Linked DNA regions of Homo sapiens: regions 2 and 3 are each linked to region 1. Evidence: promoter capture Hi-C in 16 types of primary human blood cells and fetal thymus (Javierre and others, 2016). All regions are on one chromosome and are shown on one strand. Each heading gives the region's core, a stretch centred on a gene start or on the middle of the fragment in contact. The rest is flanking DNA. Distances are from core to core; before and after follow the strand shown.

Region 1 (5,031 bases), core at 1,357-3,856:
TGTCATTCTGATTCCCTGATATCCTTCCAATAAAATGCCTTGTGTGTATCTGCCAAATTATGTTTATCTTCCTTACAATCTATAACATCAGTTAGTAACATAAAAAAAATTCCCATGTCCCAAAATTGTGCCTACCTTCAGGTGTAAACAGATCAAATATTTAGCAAATTTTAATATTGAAATTAAAATGTTTTAAGGACTCTTCATTGATTCCTTGACAATAACAAGGAAAATTACCTTATTTTAACTTTGCATCCCTAAAGACACTGTACAACTCTGTAGCAACTAATGTAACCTGGATTGTATAATATTTATGCATGTACTGGCCTTATTTCTACAAAGAGAATAGCTGCAACTAAGAGTTGAGAACCAGGGGTAATCATTGTAATACTCTCAAAACTGCCACATGAATGTTGGTTCCCAGTTGTTCAGCATTTAATTGAATCAGAGTTGGGGTTTGTAATAAGTGTGCTTTTGTTTGTGTGTGAGTGTGTGTGACAGAGACAGAGAGTGAGAGAGAGAGAGAGAGAGAGAGACGGAGAAGGTTGGAGAGATAGGAGTAGAGAGAGAAATCATGTTTTATTATGTACGTGGCTGCATACATCAGTTGTCCTGTAACTTTGCCAGGTAGCTATTTTACAGCAGAAGTACACAAGCAAAGGAGTTAATAATTCCCCATTCTGTATGAGAAGAACAAGAGCATTTCTTGGTCCCCGAGAAGCTGAGAGAAAATTGAAAAAAGAACATAATGTTTGCCAGTATTGAGGAAAAGATGCCAGGCTGAAAAATCAGAGGGCAGTGGTTTTTGTGATTTCACCTGGGAGAGTCTGAGGAAATAGCTAGGATGATGTGTTGTGAGATTTACAGTCCAGAGTCAGCCCAATCTTAAGGGTGGCTGTGTCTCAACATGATACTTTGCCAGCTGAGAAAAACATTCCCAGGGAGATGGCAAAGAGGACGCTTCTCTGACAGTAAAATTCAAAGCTGCCAGCACATCCACCCTCTCACAGTTTTACCTGAATTCTTGCCTTCTTTCTGTTATAACTATATGCCACAGTAGCAGACAGTGTATGGCCAATAACCTCAAGATCATTTTTTGAGGGCAAATTATTAAGTTTGTTCTTCTCTAGATATGCACATTGACAAAGATCCCTACTGGAGTCCATCTGAAAAGACAAATTCATAACAATTAGCAATTTTTCTCTTATTGTGCTCACCAAAGTTCACATTTTGAACTTGTGATTTTTTTTACTTTGTTGGATTTTTATTTTTTTGCTGACTGTAGTAGAATATTACAGAAGTCTTCTGTGGACCTTAAAACTTTTCAGACATGGCTGGAAAACCTGCTAAACCATTTACTTGCTTGAGACCCTTGGACAGATTCTTTAACCAGATAGATCAGTTTTTTTTTCTCCTGTAAAAATGAGATGATAAATTATAACTAATGTGGTTTATTTTAATGATAAATAAGACCAATGTTTGTATAGGTGCTAGTGCATAGTGTATCCTCAACAAATTATACTTACTTATTTTATTAATGCTCCCAAATATTTTGTTTATTTAAATGCAAGATAGCTAAAATAATTCACCTGTTAGCAGAAAGAAGTTATTTCATTGTAAAAAGTCCAAATTATGTCACAGTTTGGCCTAAGATTAGATAAAGGAGGAATGGCTCAGAAGAGGCCAAAGTGAAGAAATGGCACAGAGTCAGACATTAATATTTATGTCTAGATTTTTATGGATACAAATATGACCCAATACTGCTCATTTAGAAAAGAAACAATTTTCTCCTCTTATTCTTACAGCTTTCCCAATCTTGGTGAGACCAAAGCAGTTGATGAATGGATAAAGTGGATAAATACCTTCATTCAGGCTCTTCCATAACTGTGCCATTGGCGGTTCAGTCCGGCTGATCTAGCAGGGGTATTGTGCTTACAATAAAAATGGCTTGGGGATGGTTCCATAAAGTAGTAGGGATATAGGGAACCAAGTTACAACTGGCAACATTAAATTCACTCAGACAATGAGGGAAACAGAGAATAAAACTTTACAGACCAAATATGTTAATGCCTATGTAATTGTATTTGAATATTGACATGTGATACCCACCCACCACCTTAAATAAACACATACAAAAGAAGTCTGCAATAACATCCTTTTGTCTTATTGACAACAAGTATGGCCATGCTACTATATGACTGTATTTGTGGTGTTTCGGCTGTGAACAGTGTACTCTGTGAGAATGTGTGTGTATGAGTGTATGTGTGTGTAAGAGAGAGGGGCAGAGAGAAAGGGGGGAGAGAGAGAGATACACAGACAGAAATTCTGTGCATTACTAATTGGTACACCACTGCCCTCACCAATCCCATGTGCTCTGTTGTGTTCCTCTGTGAAGAAAATGGTGCAATGGTGCTTAGGATAATTCCTCAGAAAAGTGGAAGAATCTGGCCTCTCTATCCTCATTTGCCCTCTTCTTCTCTCCTGTGTATCTTTTCACTTCTCCTGCACAAGCATTCTTACCTCTGTAATATTTCTTCTCCCAGCCCTCACTTGGAGCAGAATTGGAGCATGAGTCCAGGTTCTTAAAGACCGTGATTAGGTTCCCCTTGAAGCCTCTGAGCAACAAGCCTGCTTGGTAAAGTGGAGGCAACTTTATAGTGAGTGAGAGCATCCCTATGACCAGGCATGTCCCAGAATCCCCGAGCCTAGTCTTCGGAATCCTCTGGGCAGAAACATGGACTCGAGGGTCATTAAGTCATAGTAAGTCTTTATTCCTCTTCACTGCATCTGCAGAGAAACACCATGCTAGATATAACTCCTTAGCTCAGGGGAGCAGATGTGTTATGAAAGGATGGGAAGGGAGCTATCCTGAAGAGAGAGGAATCTGTTTGGGGAATGATGTTAATTCCGCTTCCCTCAGGAGCCATGAAAGCATTGATTTTGGACCATTAACTCTTCACAGTGTGACCATGAAACTGTTCTCAGCAACTTTTCTGTTTTAATATGTTTGTGTAAATCCTGATGTAGTTTCACAGCTGTTACAATTGAGGCTTCAAAAGATGAAGGAGAAGACATCTCAAATAGACAAATTAGACTCTGTGGTACAACTCTGTTTATTGGCAGTGTGCATGCCTGCAGATAATAGCAGCAACTTTCTTCCAACCCACCAAGATTCTCCTTCTCAGTCTATAACTAATGGTGAACAGATAGTCTTTGAAGAGAGGCTTTCATGTGTTTCAGCTCTTTTGGCAGAAAGTGAAGAAAATTCTACGTTTTCCTTATAAAACATATTATATTGTCCCTTCCAGCCAGAGCAGAGGTAGTGTTTCCTGAGAGGCTCCCTTCCTGAATGATGACATAGTAGACCCGATAGTACTACCAGGACATGCTGCAGAGCCTGGTTTTCCTGACTATAGTTAGAAATAGACTGAGGGAAAAATAAGTACATTAGACAATTAGTTGGTATTTTTTGCCTCCTAAGTTCAGACTATTTTGAGTTGTTAGCACAGAAACAGCAATGTCGTCTGTGGTCCAAGAGAGATTCTGGTTTGATCTGCCACGTTCTTGTGTTCATTACTTCTCTTTTGATTAATGAGAAAGTAACTCCTGAGGTTCCTGTTTCTCCCTCATTGTGTCCATCTTCCTTACTGTATCCACATTTATCTTCCCAAATCAAGTCTGACTCTATCCAATTTCTGCTTAAAATTCCTTCCCATGACCCCTACATTCTCCATTGTATACTGTAGACTTTATGTAATAAGGGGCAAACACCATTGTTGCCAAAGTCCTTCACTCAATACCCAATCAACTTTTTATACTTTCATTATACTACATGACTCCCGAACACACATCTTGTCTTTGATAATCAAAAGTCCTCCATATGAAATAACTTCATCTCATTTCTACTTTGCTTCAGCACTTTCTCAATTGTCCTATACTTCTTAATGACCTTTCATATGAATCAATCTGATATAATCTTTGTGTCTTTTGTATTTTCACATCAGTGTGTGCCACTATTATAACAGGCAAATTTTATTTTGTGTTGGTTTTGTGTTTTCTGTCTTCCATTATTTTATGGATTGATATTAGAGTGATGTTTAAGTCAACTTTATCCTTCAGTTCACTTAGTATAGTGCTTTGATTGTAGGAGGTGTTCTGGCATTGAATTACATTATTTTTAAAACATAAAAATTCTAGTTCTGTTAGGGTCATATCATATAATCATATATCTCCTAATTGGTCACTGTACCTACCCCTCTCCTATTCCCAAGACTATTTCACTGTGACTTCTAGAATCAATTTTTTATGAGCAGTGATATTATTTTTGGCCTTAAACCACTTCTGATGTTCTGTTTCTCTTCCTTTTGAAACAGAAACCCAGCTGTTCCCTGAGGACATTACTTCTGAAAAGTGTTGAAGGATTGGATATATTTTCCCACTATTTTCACTGTTTCCTCATGCCAAATAGCCTAAAGGCCTAGAGACTTTTTGTCTTGGACTTTTGACAGTTTGACATTATAATGCCTCGGGGAGGACCTTCTTGAGTTGAATTTACATAGGGGATTTTGAGCTTTCGGATCTGGATATCTACATCTCTCTTCATATTTGGAAAGTTTTCAGCTGTTATTTTATTAAATAGGTTTCCTTTGTCCTTTTCTTTCTCTTCTCCTTCTAGAATTCTCATAATACAAATATTTGTTTACTTAATGGCATCCCATTAAGGAACACCATTATTTCTTTACTTTTTTAAATCCTTCTTTTGTTTTTCTTTGACTTATTTCAAACAACCTGTCAACAGATTCTTCTGCTTGACCAAGTCTGCTATTGAATCTCTCTATTGTAACTTGAAAACTTATTCATTGAATTCTTCAGCTACAGGATTTCTATTTGATTTTTATGATTTTTATCTTCTGTTGAATTTCTCATTTGTTTCATGAATTGTTTTCCTGATTTTATTGAATTGTCTATGCTGTATATTCTTGTATTTTATTGAGTCTTCTCAGCATCATTATTTTGATTTTTTTTCTTTGG
Region 2 (5,031 bases), core at 1-2,500, 300 kb after region 1:
TTTCTTGAGGTGATGGGAAATCAGATTGCATTTCAATAGGAAGAGTAAGAGAATGAGACAGATTTTACTAAAGATTTCCAATAAAAGAAATCAGAGGTGGGTTTGAATAGGTGACATATTTAAAAAAATTGGGAGATCGATGAGAATAACACAGGGATAATTGGAAGATGTAGAGGTGAGAATGGGCTAAATACGGGACAATTGATAGGTATAGAAAAGGGTTGAGACTAAGTTGAAAGCATTTATTTAGATCCTTTGGCAAGATTTGAAAACATCTGCTTAGCCCCTTCCAGTATTGGCTTAGTCCTCACTCCATAAATAACGGGATTGAGCATAGGAGGAATGACAACGTAGAGGCTGGCCAGGAGAATATGGACATAGCATGGGACGCTTCTCCCACCAAACCTGTAGGCAAAGACAGAAAAAAGCGCAGGGACATAGAAGAGTAGGATGACACAGATATGGGATCCACAGGTACTCAGGGCCTTGGAGCGGGCATCTTGAGAAAGGAGGCGGAAGACTGCTTGGAGGATGTGGATGTAGGAAACAGTAATAAGCATGATGTCTAGGCCTGTGGAGAGAAGAGCAGCTGCCAACCCATACCAGACATTGATGGAGATATCAGAACAGGACAGATGGGCAATGCCCATGTGCTCACAAAATGTGTGTGCAATGATATTGATCTGGCAATAGTGCAGGTGCTCAAGGAGAAAGATGGATGGAAACATAATGATGAAGCTGTGGCTCAGGGCGGCAGTGACGATCTTCCCAATGACCTTGCTTGTGAGGATTGTGACATATCGCAGGGGGGAGCAGATGGCCACATAGCGGTCAAAGGCCATGGCCAGCAGGACAGCAGAGTGAATGAAGAGGAAGTGAATGAAGAACATCTGAGTGAGGCAGCCATCAAAGGAAATGAGGCTATAACCTAGCCACAAATTGGCCAGGGCCTTAGGCATGGTGGTGGTAGAGAGCAAGACATCAGCACTGGCCAGCATAGATAAGAATATGTACATGGGCTCATGCAGGATTGCCTGGGAGAGGATGACACAAATTAGGATGCCATTGCCTTCCAGGGCAGTGATGTACATGATGCAGAAGGGGATGGACAGCCAGATATGTAGTTGCTCCAGCCCAGGGATGCCAGTGAGGAAGCAGCCTGCTATGCGAGTGTCAGAGTTGTTCATAGCACCTATGCTGTTAGCAGAAAAAAGGGCCATGATTTTATGCAGCGCCCTCACCTGTGCCATAGGGAAAAAAGAGCTTCAGATTTTTGAATACATTAGTAGAGTGTCCATATGCACAAGGCCTGCATATACTTACAGGCCCGATGACAGTTATGGCTTCTGCACACAGGCATATCTCTACAGATAATCACACACAGGCTCTGCACACAGCCATATTCTCCGTAAATAATTACACATAGGCTCTGCACAGTTACAGGACCTGCCCACAGACAGGCTCAGTGTTCTTACTCAGAAGCTCTCCACACAGCTTTAAGAATTTCAGGAAACTAGGCCGGGCGCAGTGGCTCACGCCTGTAATCGCAGCACTTTGGGAGGCTGAGGCTGGTGGATCACGAGGTCAGGAGTTCAAGACCAGCCTGGTCAAGATGGTGAAACCCTGTCTCTACTGAAAATACAAAAAATCAGCTGGGTGTGGTAGCAGGCGCCTGTAATCCCAGCTACTCGGGAGGCCGAGGCAGGAGAATCACTTGAACTTGGAGGGCGGAGGTTGCAGTGAGCCGAGATCGCGCCACTGCACTCCAGCCTGGGCGACAGAGTGAGACTCCGTCTCAAAAAAAAAAAAATTTTTTTTCAGGAAACTAAAGGGCTCAAAAACATTGCCAGACTCAGCACAGTGCCATAGGTCCAGAAAAGAACAGGGATAGGTAGAACATCAAAACCAATCTGTACAATCTCTTTGGGCATGTGAACTGTAATGAGCTCTGCAAAAGCCCCAGGCCCTACAGAGAGGACTGCAGTCCTACAACAAGAGGACTAAACAACAATTTGATTAGCAGATTATGTGAAAGAGTAGGGTTGGGGGTGGTGGGCACTGCCAACCCTACACCCATTTTTCCCTAGGCACAGATGCGCTAAGTATGAAGGCAATTAAGGTAGCTACGGCATTTAGAAAGAACACCGCAGAGGGTGTGAAAAAACCTGGGTCAGAGGTCTGCCCTGTTAACTATTGGCTGCTTGATCTTGGACAAGTCACTGTCTTCTCTGAGTAACAATTTTCTTTCTTTCTTTCTTTTTTTTTTTTTTTTGAGACGGAGTCTCGCTCTGTCGCCCAGGCTGGAGTGCAGTGGCGCGATCTCGGCTCACTGCAAGCTCCGCCTCCCAGGCTCACGCCATTCTCCTGCCTCAGCCTCCCAAGGAGCTGGGACTACAGGCGCCCTCCACCACGCCCGGCTAATTTTTTTGTATTTTTGGTAGAGACGGGGTTTCACCGTGTTAGCCAGGATGGTCTCGATCTCCTGACCTCGTGATCCACCCACCTGGGCCTCCCAAAGTGCTGGGATTACAGGTGTGAGCAATTTTCTAATTTTTAAAATGAGCATAATTGTTGTTTTGTTGGTATATTAAGCTAAATTTTCTCTGTGGAAAGCTTATTAAATTGCGTGTGACTTCCTGAGTCACCTCTGTGGCTGTGAAATGTGGCACTGTCATCCAGAGCAGAAAGGAAGGTGTAGAACAATGCTTCTGAAGCTTGGTCTCCACAGCACCATCAGGGAACTTGTAAATTCTTCGGCCCTACCACAAACCTACGGATGAGAAAACCTAGAGTTGGGATAACATTCTGTGTTTTAGCAAGCTCTCTAGGTGATTCTGATTCATGCTGAAGTTTGTGAGCCACTGATGTAAGAACTTTTTGAACTTTCTTCCCTATCTACTCTAGATGTCTATCAGTTCCACCAGGATCATTACCTTTTAGTATCCATTGGTTTCCCCTGCATCTGTAAATTCTCAGACTTCAACTAAATCTAACTAGTGTTATCCTCAGCTTACATAGTCAGGATGTGAAAAAATGACACAATCACATAAGTAGTCTTTAGTACATATTAGGACACATGATTCCTCCTTAGTCCTATTGAACTATTCTCACAATGAATATACGACTTTTTTTTTTTTTTTGAGATGGAGTCTCACTCTGTCTCCCTGCCTAGAGTGCAATGACGTGATCTCCGCTCACTGCAACCTCTGCCTCCTGGGTTCAAGTGATTCTCCTGTCTCAGCCTCCCAAATAACTGGGATTACAGGCGCCCACCACCATGCCCAGCTAATTTTTTTTTTGTATTTTTAGTAGAGATGGGGTTTCATCATGTTGGCCAGGCTGGTCTTGAACTCCTGACCTCAAGTGATCCAGCTGCCTTGGCCTCCCAAAATGCTGGCATTGGCCTCCCAAAGTGCTGGTGGCTCCCATATGTGAGCCACCACACCTGGCATATACGACTTTTATCACTGCCCAAATTCTGTTTTTCTCTCTCCACTGAATGTTTCTCTTTTGTAACTCACATTTCAGGACTATCAGGAACATATCCCTCATATTATTCCTTTCCTGTACATTTATTTATCTCTGCATCCATCCTCCCCTCATTTCCTCCAGTCCCAGAGAAAGAGGTGCCAGTATCTTTCCTATTTTCCAATGTTTCTTTTGTCATAGCTGGAACATATTTTACTTTACCTAAATATAAGACAAGTTTCTTGAGTTATTTTTTGAGGTGCTGGGAAATGAACCTAGGGCCTCGTGTATGAATATTTAACATATTAGATTGTTTTTAAAACAACCTTATACACACACAAACATACATATGCATACTTACATGCATGCATTCATATGTGTACATATATACATATGCATGTATATACATGTGTTTATGTGTATGAATGTATGTAGCTGTATCGTCAAGAATAATTTCCCCATCTATTCTCTGAATTACCTTTCTTTCCTACCAATTCAGGGACTTTGTTTCATCAATTATTCTCTGTCTTTATCTTCAGCTTCTCCTGATTTCCTGGATCTTTATTAAAGAATATTCAAATATTTTTAACTTGAAGACAAGCAAAAAATTAACAACAGCTATAATAAAAACATTTTATTCTACTAAACTCTCTTTTAAATTACTGTTTTGTCTCTCTTCTTTCCTTTAAAAATCATTCTTCCATGAAAGACCACTTTTGACTTTGATTTCTCTACCTTCCACCAGTTCTTCTCTTGTACCCTGGTCTGATCCTGCTCTCATTAAAGTCATCTCTCTCCCTGCAGAATGGTTTACTGTTTGTGTTTCCTAATGGTCTGTAGCAATCCTCTTCTCACTCTTTCCTCTCTCTGACCAATCTTGTCTACTACCTTGGCTCCATTTAGCCTTCATGTGCTAATATCTCCCAAATCTACATTGCCATTTATGTTGCTTTCCAGGCTCTAGATCCACTTATCCAAAGCCCTCCCAACTGGTCTCCTAGTCTGCAGTTCTTCTAGTCTCTAAACCATTCCTCATAATTAAACAATGTTCCCAAAAGATAATTTTGCATATGCACTATCTTGATTAAGGATAATAACTGCCCGTTGCCTGAAAGATTCATGCAACTAACACACACACACACACACACACACTCTCTCTCTCTCTCTCTGTCTCTCTCTCTCTCTCCCCCTCCCTGCTTTCTCTTTTCTTTGCTCATACTGGAAAGCATGTATGCCCCTGAAGCTACTCTTTTTTTCCTGTGGTCTTTTATACATTCTGCTTCTTCTACTTCCATCCTCCTCTTTAACATAGCCAGTCTATATTTCTCATCCAGAAAGATTTTTCTCATCCCTCCAAATGGCTGGATCAGCAACTTTCTCTGTACTATTGCATTCCCCTGCAGCCATCTCTCTTTCTCCCTATCTGTACTTACTGCACTAAAATATTTTCAGTCCCAATATATTGTGAGCTCTCTGTGAGCCAGGACTGTGCCTCATTTGCTATTGACTGGGTTAGAATTTACACTTAATGAATGTTCAAAAGTAGGTGGAGGAGGTACATTC
Region 3 (4,908 bases), core at 518-3,017, 280 kb after region 1:
TAATTTTTTTGTTGTTGTTGAAACTGAGTCTTGCTCTATCGCCCAGGCTGGAGGGCAGTGGCACTATCTCGGCTCACTGCAACCTCTGCCTCCCGGGTTCAAGCGATTCTCGTGCCTCAGCCTCCTGAGTAGCTGGGATTACAGGTGAGCGCCACCATGCCCAGCTAATTTTTGTATTTTTAGTAGAGACAGGGTTTTACCATGTTGGCCAGGCTGATCTCGAACTCCTGACCTCAAGTGATCTGCCTGCCTTGGCCTCCCAAAGTGCTGGGATTACAAGCGTGAGCCACTGCGCCCAGCCTGGGGAGGTAATATTTTTACAACTCATGATTCTGTAACCAGTTGTGATTTAGAAATCACATTCTCTTGCTTTCTTTATCCCTCATGGACAACTCTGCATAAATAAGAGTATTCTCCATTCTTTAATAAGAAGAGACATTAAGTGACTTTACACAATCATGCACCTTGTAAGTTGTAGAATTGGCATAACCTAACCTTTCCAGGGTGCTAGTTCAAAGCTTCGTCCTCAAACTCATAACTTTGACCAAAGACAGTCAGTGGTAAAGGCTGTGAAAGTCAGGCATGGACCAAGTGCTTTCGAAGTATGGAAATGAGAGAGATCCTATTTGATGATGGGATTTTGCCAGGGCCTGTCTTAAACTTCAGCAGGATCCTAAGGGGGTCCATATGTAAGGAGAGGTGGCCGGTAAGGCAGTTGAGACCTTATATCTTCATTGAGAAATATGACCTTTATTGTCTATTTTTCTTGGAAGAGTTGTTGATAAATTACGTTACCATTGTTTAAAATCACACTGAGAATACTCTTTAGAAAATTTTTAAAACTGTTTCCAGCACTGAGTTATTTTCACTGGGAGCCATTTGTTCTGCTTGTCTACCTGGAGTTGTGTTTGGGCCACCAAAGAAGAGCCAGCTAACACTGCCTATGTGAAGCTCTGGCCCTGGTTCCAGGCGTGACCTCGCTGTTCTGAACAGGCCACAGTGCGTAGGGAGCAGGCAGAATTCTCTAACTTGTCTTTGGCTGGTTTCCCAGCAAAAGTAAATGTACACTGATGTAAAAAACAGTCCGTGTGGGCCTCAACACAAGGCCCTGTAAATTGTACCAATTTACCCCCATCTTGAGGACCTGGTGGATTTAAAAAGTATATCAAACTGCCTCCCAATAACAACACTCCCCTTAGAAGAAAGGGCCTGAGAAAGTGTCTCAGATAAGGGTAAGAAAAAGTCATGGGATGTAAGCATAAGCCTCCTAGCGGCCCTGCTGGGGGATCTAGCGAGCCGAAAACAGGTTCTTGGCGCTGCCATCTAGTGTTCTGTGGTGCTTCTGCAAGTACTAGCCTGGCTCTTCAGCTTTGCCATGCTTAGCAGCAGCGATGCTCACAGCAAATATCTACAGAAAGCCCATTAGGTATTCAGCAAGAATTTAATTATTTTGTACATAATAACTCAATAATTCCACATAACAACATTATGAATGTCCCTTAAATCTCATCTCATAGTTGTATAAACTGGTATTTAGTAGATCTTTCAAGTGGCGGGGCCGGTGTTGAATGCAGATACGCAGGCTGCAGAGCTGGAGCTCTTATTACTCCCTTATATTCCTCATCTCCATAAAGGGTGCAAAATATAATTAACAAATTAATGAACTCTGTGCATCTAACTGGTAGTACTAATTGGTGTTACAGACGTATTTACCTATCATCTGAGAGTCTGTTTAACCAAATTAATCACACCTGTGGGAACTGCACTATTATTTCCTTTGTTAATATCTCCTACCATACCCACATCATCTCACTTAGCACACTGCACTATAAGGCTCTATTGCCTTTGATAATAGAGGCAATAGAGGCTCTAGAGGCAATAGAGGCTCTATTTATCTTCCAGGTGCCCCAGACCTTAGCACTGCAGCTAACACAGGAAATGATCAATTAACTTTATAATGGATTGAAAATTATAGCTTACTGCTGAGCTTATAGTTGGCCTTGATGTTGGCACTAGAGTATAGAAATAAATGTGCTATCTTATCAAAGTGTTACTGTTAAAAAATAATTGTGTTGGCCGGGCGCGGTGGCCCAAGCCTGTAATCCCAGCACTTTGGGAGGCTGAGGCAGGCGGATCACAAGGTCAGGAGATCGAGACCATCCTGGCTAACACGGTGAAACCCTGTCTCTACTAAAAATACAAAAATTTAGCTGGGTGTAGTGGCGGATGCCTGTAGTCCCAGCTACTCGGGAGGCTGAGGCAGGAGAATGGCGTGAACCCGGAAGGTGGAGCTTGCAGTGAGTCGAGATCGTGCCACTGCACTCCAGCCTGGGCGACAGAGCGAGACTCCGTCTCAAAATAAATAAATAAATAAATAAATAAATAAATAAATATAATAATTGTATTGGTATTATATTTTAATTGAAAGTCCAATTCCAATTCATCCTCCCCAACAAACACATGCACACTTTCATTTCAGGCAAAACTGTATTTAGCGTACCCAATTCTCTTGAAGGAGAACTACTGCCTCATAAATGCAATGTAGTAATAGTCCCAAACTGAAAAGAATCCATGACATCACTAACTGGTAAATGAACAAACTGTGGTGTATCCATACAGTGGCATATTACCAAACAATTAAACTGTTAATATATACAACAAGATAAATCTCAAAAGCATGCAAAGTGAAAGAACCCAAACATCAAATTTAAGTTATTGTATGATGCTATTTATGTGAAATCCTAGAAAAGAGAAAGCTATGGTATTTGAAAGTACATCAGTGGAAGCCAGGGCCCAGGAGTGGGAGAAAAGTTTGAACTGCAAAGGGCATAAGGAAATTTGAAGGGTGAATACATAAAGGGAAATGCCCTTTATGTATCATGATCATGGTGGTGGTTACACAGCTGACTGCAACTGTGAAAATTCACAGAACTGTATGCTTACAATTTGTAACTTACTAGATAGAACTCAATAAACTGACAGAAACAAAAAAATACAAGAAAAATTAAAAGCTTGGTTTCTGATCTTCTAAGCATAATGGAACTGTGTTGTCAAACATGTAGCCAGATATGGCTCTTGAGCATTTGAAGTGTGGCTACTCAGAAATGGGTTGCTTTAGGTACAAAATACACATTGGATTTTGAAGATTTAGTTTAAAAAAGTTAAAGGATCTTATTAATTTTTTTATGTTGATCACATGTCCTAATTGTATTTTGCATGTATTGGGTTAAATGAAATGTATTAAAATTAATTTCACCCGCTTATTTTTAATGAGGCTACTTGAGTATGTAACATTACATATGTGGCTTCATTCTATTTCTAGTTCATTATATGTCTTTTTCCTATCTAATATGCGCTGTAGATATTCATCTAATACTCTCTTTAGACAGAGAAAAATTCTTGAGCAGAAAAAAGATTTGTAAGAGTTGAGGTCTCTTGTCAAAGCTGAGGCTTGGGAAAGAAATTGTGAAGGAGGGGAGCATACAGTTAGCATAGGTGACCCTTGCCCACACACCAGCAAGCCCTGACTGCCCACTGCAGCTAAGTGCAGCCCAAGGGAGATATGGGAGGCTGCCAGTTTCCAACTGAGGCCAAGTCTCCAGAGCAGTGTGGACGGGCTGAGAGAAGGCATTCTGACTGTGAGGAGTGCAGACGAGAAGAGCCTGCAGTCCCAGAGCCCAGTGCATCAAATTAGCAGAAGAAAGAGCCCAAATTCACAACCAGGTGGGACCAATTAAATCAGAACCAGACGCCTGAAAAAGGTCTGCTAACTAGCAACACTGCAAGCACTTGGAGTTCTTTATGCAGAATCTCAGTCTTTCCTGGAATGATTCAGAATCTGCACTTTAATATTAAAGTTCTCTAGGTGATTCTTACGCACATTAAGGCTTCAGAAGCACTGCCTTAGATAAAGGACCTTCTTTCCCAGGTGGATACAATTTAGGGTGCAAAACAGCTAGAAGAGGGAGGGGGACAGAGAATGGCCTGCTATTTAGATACGAAGCATCTTTTAGAATGGAAGCTTGCATCGATATCAAAATGGCTTTCAGAATAAAAATCAGTGACTCAGCAGGGGATACTGGGGCTGGTGTAGGCTGGGGGTTCAGAGTTAGGAATGACAGAGCGGGCCCGTCCACCAGCTGGGAGCCCTAGTGAAAGTGGAATAAAATAGGTGGCAGTTGCATTTATAAGTGAGTTGGGCATGAGTTCTTGCACTTTAGGAATAACATTTTTTTTTATCTTTGTGTAGGGTTATATTTAACCTATTATCTGCAATTGATTATCTAACAGGACTCAATAAATATTTGAATTGGAACATAATCAGTTTCAAAACAAAAAATTTAATTTCCACTTCAAAAGAATTTCTACCCCCTGCATTTCAGAAACCTATAATTTAAAAATTGTTTTGATTGTGCATTTTTTTAAAGCTAGGCATGGAGTTTGCCAGTAATAATGACCATAATTTGTGTCAGGCAGCCTCCTACGTGTTTAAATCTGTCTCACTCAATCCTCACCAAAACTCTAAGATATACATATTACTCCGTCCATCTTATAGATGGAAGAAACTAAAGCTCAAAGAAGTCAAGTTAACAGTCTTCGGGCACACAGCCAGTGTCTGTCAGAGTCAGGATTTGAACACATGCAGTCTGGCTGCGGCATCTATGCTCCTAACCACACATTTCTGTCTCTATTGACTGACTGATTAAAATGTCTCTAACCTCAGTGGGGTCATTTGCAGTGAGAAAGAAAAAGAAATAAAGATATAATGAGTTCCGAAAGGGAAAGGACCTTATCTCTTTCACTGCCCTGTCACCTCTGCCAGAAGTGACAATAAGAGCCAGTCAACAGAACGGTAGACATACCTCTCTGACCCGCACATCTGGGGAATGAGAAGCCAAGAAGTTCCAG

The links. The method cuts DNA at HindIII sites, captures the fragments that hold promoters and counts their contacts. A CHiCAGO score of 5 or more calls a contact.
Region 2: the fragment with the promoter of OR52B6 here is called in contact with the fragment with the promoter of OR52E4 in region 1 in 5 of 17 cell types (neutrophils, monocytes, erythroblasts and 2 more); the score reaches 7.9 in neutrophils.
Region 3: a contact is called between a fragment that was not itself captured here and the fragment with the promoter of OR52E4 in region 1, in 1 of 17 cell types (megakaryocytes). The highest score is 7.3, in megakaryocytes.

Annotation. Positions count from the first base shown.
Region 1 is chr11:5,878,204-5,883,234 of GRCh38, reverse strand. OR52E4 (olfactory receptor family 52 subfamily E member 4) reads right to left here and starts at 2,606. Exons shown (of 2, transcript NM_001005165.2): 1 at 2,521-2,606. It overlaps LOC112268071 (a long non-coding RNA gene), which reads left to right. Exons shown (of 3, transcript XR_002957231.2): 3 at 1,806-2,140. The HindIII fragment of the contact is 16,575 bases long and covers 1-5,031 here.
Region 2 is chr11:5,577,096-5,582,126 of GRCh38, reverse strand. It overlaps OR52B6 (olfactory receptor family 52 subfamily B member 6), which reads right to left and starts at 1,250. Exons shown (of 1, transcript NM_001005162.2): 1 at 243-1,250. The coding sequence starts at 1,250. The coding sequence ends at 243. RefSeq lists an enhancer at 714-1,008 and a silencer at 714-1,008. The HindIII fragment of the contact is 3,709 bases long and covers 1-2,615 here.
Region 3 is chr11:5,596,869-5,601,776 of GRCh38, reverse strand. TRIM6 (tripartite motif containing 6) reads right to left here. Exons shown (of 8, transcript NM_001003818.3): 1 at 4,863-4,908. The coding sequence starts at 4,879. It overlaps TRIM6-TRIM34 (TRIM6-TRIM34 readthrough), which reads right to left. Exons shown (of 14, transcript NM_001003819.4): 1 at 4,863-4,908. The coding sequence starts at 4,879. It also overlaps a transcript of TRIM5 not described here. Among named protein-coding and RNA genes, the nearest start is that of TRIM6-TRIM34, 2.7 kb to the right of the region's middle. RefSeq lists enhancers at 1,124-1,418, 4,452-4,908. The HindIII fragment of the contact is 2,493 bases long and covers 521-3,013 here.